2 separate regions of the Homo sapiens genome follow, and region 1 is linked to region 2. Evidence: promoter capture Hi-C in 16 types of primary human blood cells and fetal thymus (Javierre and others, 2016). All regions are on one chromosome and are shown on one strand. The core of a region is centred on a gene start or on the middle of the fragment in contact, and the rest is flanking DNA. Distances in the headings are between cores, read along the strand shown.

What was found. Contacts are between HindIII fragments. The CHiCAGO score rates a contact against its expected background, and 5 or more counts as called.
Region 1: a contact is called between a fragment that was not itself captured here and the fragment with the promoter of DOCK11 in region 2, in 5 of 17 cell types (non-activated CD4 T cells, activated CD4 T cells, neutrophils and 2 more). The highest score is 7.6, in non-activated CD4 T cells.

What each region holds. Positions count from the first base shown.
Region 1 is chrX:118,639,660-118,642,359 of GRCh38, forward strand. It overlaps DOCK11 (dedicator of cytokinesis 11), which reads left to right. Exons shown (of 53, transcript NM_144658.4): 39 at 1,531-1,646. Among named protein-coding and RNA genes, the nearest start is that of IL13RA1, 87 kb to the right of the region's middle. The HindIII fragment of the contact is 5,304 bases long and covers 1-2,700 here.
Region 2 is chrX:118,494,437-118,497,136 of GRCh38, forward strand. DOCK11 (dedicator of cytokinesis 11) reads left to right here and starts at 1,379. Exons shown (of 53, transcript NM_144658.4): 1 at 1,379-1,637. The coding sequence starts at 1,536. RefSeq lists enhancers at 717-786, 1,189-2,167 and silencers at 1,197-1,336, 1,447-1,526, 1,617-1,676, 1,847-1,906. The HindIII fragment of the contact is 5,195 bases long and covers 1-2,700 here.

The DNA.
Region 1 (2,700 bases), core at 45-2,544, 150 kb after region 2:
CATAAATACCTTGATCATTACACATTATATGCATGTAACAAAATATCACCTGTATCCCTTAAATATGTATGAAGAAAAGAAGTCCTGGTTTAAATTGCCAATATGATGGGAAATGATTTCCCATACATGTGTTTGCATCTCTCTGCTATGTATATAATCAATTTCATCATACATGACTATAAAATGATAAAATACACATGGATTTTTGAACAATTTTAGGTCATGATGTTTTCTTCTTAGTGTTAAAGAAACTAAATTTTTCCCATGGAATTGCTATTCTCATAATATTTTTATATTGAGTATTCTTCATTCCTACTGTTAGACTTCAATGCAAATATTGACATCTTAATATAATAGTATATGTAATATTTGTTTAGTTACTTTTGGTCATTTAATGATTAGGGAATGAACATGCTGAGTTGACTGCAGAAATCGGTGAATCCTAAATACTAGTTTGGCAAAGGTGTATTTCAGACAGGTTGAAGTATTGACAAGGCAAATAGGGCAAGGAGAGAAATCTTGCCCAACTGCGGAAGCTAGAGGGTTATATAAATGGAAGCTATCCTATGAAAAGCAAATATTAATAACAACTCAAAGAGTGAGAATGTTTTGTTTCCACACAGTCCTCTGAAGGTTTCAGAAAAGGAAGCCAGCAAAACTGGCTTTGTGGTAAGACCTAGTAATAAAAAATAATGTTTTGCTAGACCCTGAACTAATAGACTCAGGACCTTTAAATCTGCATGTTTTAAAGCCTTCAGCTTCTTGTAAAAATATGATGAACCACTTCCTTCAGTTGCCTCCAAGATACCTTGTTTTCCTTCTGATTTAGAAACAAATGTCATATAATTGGCATAATTGAAAATGTCTGACCATAGGGCACTACTGTTTATCTGTAGCTGAATTTCTATTTAGTGGTTTCTCATTTTTACCCACATAATTAGTGGCATGACTTAGAAGGCCTCCCACATTATTTCCTAGTTACATCGCCAGAGTTCATCACTGAAACCTTGTCTCCAAAGAGGTGGGCACCTAATTATGTCCTGCAGAGCTGTTGATACAGAACTGTAATGAAAACTAATGAAATTGATTAACCCAGACTATATTTGATGAAGGAGTTAAATACAGTATGACACTGTGAGCCCTCTTTTTTTTGAGACGGAGTCTCACTCTGTCACCCAGGTTGGAGTGCAGTGACGTGATCTCGGCTCGCTGCAACCTCTGCCTCCCGGGTTCAAGTGATTCTCCTGCCTCAGCCTCCTGAGTAGCTGGGATTGTAGGTACGTGCCACCATGCCCGGCTAATTTTTTGTATTTTTAGTAGAGACAGGTTTCATCATGCTAGCCAGGCTGGTCTTGAACTGACCTCATGATCTGTCCGCCTCAGCCTCCCAAAGTGCTGGGATTACAGGCATGAGCCACCGCACCCAGCCGAGCCCCCTTTCTTGTCTTAAGTCTTTGGGTAGAAAGTCATTCAACACCATTATGTGCATCTTCGTGTTGGGAAAAGTTTAATTTACTTTTTTAATCCTAGGTTCTACAACAACTGAAGCAGACATTTTCCACCAGGCACTTCTTGAAGGCAATACAGCTACTGAAGTTTCCCTAACAGTACTAGACACCATATCATTTTTCACTCAGTGCTTCAAGGTAAAAATGAAGAGTTATAATTCAGTTGGTACCATTGCAAAGTAACATTATGCAGAAATTACCTAGTCAATGTGGGGTAGTACACTGAAAAAGGCTGGCATGAATAGTCAGGAAATGTGGATGGCAGTTCTAGTTTGGTTATCATGTGACCCTGGAAGTCACTGAGACTCACTTGTGTCATCCATAAAGGGAAGGGAGTGGACTAACTTGCCCTTAAGCTCTCTTCTACCTCTTAAATTCTATTAGATTTTCGTATTTAAAAACAAAGTTTCCATACTTTAAGTAGCCAGCAATTTTTAGCCCAAAATATGATTGGATCTGTTTGCCCAAATACCCATTGTGATGAGATGTCCTGTCAGGGTAGATGATGTCCGGGCAGTCTGGCTGGCTTCCCTAGGCGCGCACTTAGTGTTTTTTCTCAGATGTTTGCCTCTCAGTGCAAATCATCATTGCTATGATTTTAAAAAGAAGGTAAAAGCAGTTATCTAGCAGGATTATTGGAGGGGGAAATGGGATAATGGACGTGAGAGTGCTTTGAAAAGTAAAAACGGTGTGACCATAATGTAAGAACTCAAAGGTGAAAATCTTGCTTGCTTTCACTTCAGTTATACAGATTTTTTTTTTCCTTTTTCCCCTCTTCTCTAAGTAATTAAGTTAATTGCTTCAGACCTCGAGATTTTCTATGGAAACCTGGCCTGTGCTTTTCAAAGAGGCTTATAAAGGAAAATTGAATTAGATACTAATATAAAATAGGCTGCAGAATACCTTTAATAAATAGGCTACAGATCCCTTTATGAAGTATTAGGTTTGTTCTATATTAAAATGCAACACAACTCCATGTTTCATCGTGCCAATAACTAAGAAAGCCATTAGATCTCATGATGTACATTGTATTCCTTCCTCCTATTCTGATACCTCTAATTTATTTAACAAACATTTATATAGTCTCTTGGTAGATATCAGGCACTGTCCTAAGTGCTTTACAAATATTAACTCACTTTTTCATTGTGAGGCTGGGAATGAGAAAGGGGAGTGATCTTTTTGAAACAATGGA
Region 2 (2,700 bases), core at 129-2,628:
CCTTTTCTGGGTTCAAAGAAACCATCACCACGCATGCCCTTGTTTCCATAATAAAGTCCCCTAAAAGACTGTTTGGTCTTTGAGGGTGGGGAAAGTGCCCGATGGGTGGTGGTAGGACTGCTTTCAGAAGGGCTGCTCGGTCCCCCAGACTGAGGGCCATTTTCAAACTCTCAACAAATGAAATAACCAGATAGAAAACTGCCACCATCAGTGGAGCCTTTCACTCTGCACTTCAGGAGGTCTGACAGGGTCACTAGTACTTCAAGATTCCCGTCCCTATTTCTGTCTTAAGCATGTTCGTTTTATACCCTGTTATGAGATGTTCTTTGATTCTTGGAAAAACAATTTCTTGGAAGCTGAAAAGAGTAAGGAGATGAATAGGAAATGGAGAGGTGAGTGCAGGGCACTTGTAAAAGCTACTATAAGATTGGTAAGTCCACCAAACCCAGGGAGATGGCCTTCCTAATGCCCACCCCCACCCCACTCCTGGTGCAGTCAGTGCTGACCTAGGGATCACCTGCCACAGGCTCATCCTAATGCCCACCCCCACCCCACTCCTGGTGCAGTCAGTGCTGACCTAGGGATCACCTGCCACAGGCTCAGGCTCCACCACCCAGCTCTCCCCCGTGGGGGACGGAGCGAGGGGTGCCGCCACAATAAGTTCCCACTTCCAGAAGCATGCTCTCTCCCCAGTGTTGCCCCCTGTTAGGTGAGCCAACTGAGTAGGAAAACGGTGTGGGCGAGGAGGGGGACCCAGTCGAGCCGCTCACGCTGGAAAGCAGCTCTCTGTCCTTCGACATTGGTGCGACCCTTCCCCAAGGAGCACACAAAAGGCGGCTGCTCCACGTTGTTTTCCAGCCCCTAGCCGCCTGGGCCCTGGGGGCTTGCGGGGTGGAGGGACGTGAGAGTTCTCCAGCCCTCCTGCGGGCACTGCAGCTCGGAGGCGGGAGAGGAGCACTAGGGCGGGAGAGGAGCACGCCCCACTCTTGGAGACATTTCATCACCCCTCTCTGTTCCCCCACCCCACCCCGCCCTCCCCACTCAAGCGGAAAAAAAGAAGCAGCCCAGATCTCCCCTCCCGGATGCGGCTGCACCAGCAACATCAGCTGCGGGCGGAGCCCGAGCGGTAGCCACTTCCCCCCTCTTCCCTCGTGACCCTCGCCCCCACCTCCAGTTCTCCCTCCCCCTCTACACACCCTTCCCCATCAGACACACCCTCCTGCTTCGGCTGGTGGCGATCGGAGCTCGGGCCCTCTAGGGGAGGGAGCTGCCGCCGCCGACGCCGTGGGGCAGGACAGTGAGCGGGCGAAGCGAGCGAGAAAAGGAGGGAAGGAGGGAACGAGGGAGGAGCAGCGGGTGGGAGGTGGGAGGGAGGAGCAGCGTGAGCCGCGCCGCCGCCGAGCTGCGATGTGGCCGGCCGGCCGGCGAGTAAACAGAGGGAGCAGCAGCGGCCGCGGCCGCCGCGGGCCGGGGCAGTGAGTCCACCCGCCCGCCGAGGTCCGCCCGCCCGCCGAGACCCGCCCGCCGCCGCTGCCATGGCCGAAGTGCGCAAATTCACCAAACGGCTCAGCAAGCCTGGCACGGCGGCTGAGCTCCGGCAGAGCGTGTCTGAGGCCGTGCGGGGCTCCGTGGTGCTGGTGAGTGGCCGGGGGACGGGGCATCCCGGGGGACGCGCTCCAGGCGGGAGCGACGCGGGAAGGGGCAGGAACGGCGCCAGTGCGGCCGCTTGGTGCGCCGCGCGCTGTCTTTCTCCGCTCCAGTAAGTTTTCGCACCGGCAGCCGCCGGCCGGGGTCCGAGTCCCAGGCGCCGGCTGACAGCTCTCCGGCCGCCCGGCACGGCGGAGGCGTGCGCCGGGATGGAAGCAGACGGGCAAAAGCCGGGCTCGGACGGCTGCGGAGGAGGCGGAGGCGGAGGCTCCCACCCAGGGTCGGGGCCGGGGGTGTGAGCTAAAGAGCTGACCTCGCGCTGCTCTGGACTCGGCACAAAGAGCCGGGGACAAGGGCACGACGAGATCCTGATCCCCTCCCGCGAGCACCTGAGGCCGCCTAGGCGGAAGGATGCGATGAGCGTTTGGCACACACACTCTCGCGCGCACACATACACACACTGTGTACACAAAAAAGAACCCCACCCAGAAAGCCCCGGGCGCCCAAGCTCGGGCTGGCGGTGAGAACAGAGGAAGCAGAGCGACTTCCTCCTGCAACTGGGGAGAGAGGGTGGTGATGGGTGTTGAAGGGGTGCTGCTGCGGAGGAAGGGCATTAGAAACAACGGGGTTCTGCGACAGAGTGGGCGCAGGGTCATCCACCGCAGGGAGAGTGTGTCCCTCGGGGACACGCGAGCGCTCCAGAGGCAAGGGGACCAAGGGGACGGTGCCGTGGGGATTTGGGGGAAGACTGGGTGTGTCAGTCCAGGGATGGAGGACCTGGGGTCAGAGCCCCACAGCTCAGGACTGGGGGATGGGGATTCGAAAGCGCGCTGACTCCCTGGGAACCCTCCCAGAGCACCCTCAGCCTTATCCAGATTGTCTGACTCTGGAGAAAGGCTAAAGGGTGCTAACGGGCACTTGCCCCTTCTCTTGTTTTCAAGACACTCGTTGCCAGTTTCCTGGACAAGCGAACAAACCCTGAATAAGCAATCGGACTGATTAATTAGTGTTTGTTTTGTTACTTTGTTTTTTGGTTGTTGTTTTTGTTTGTTT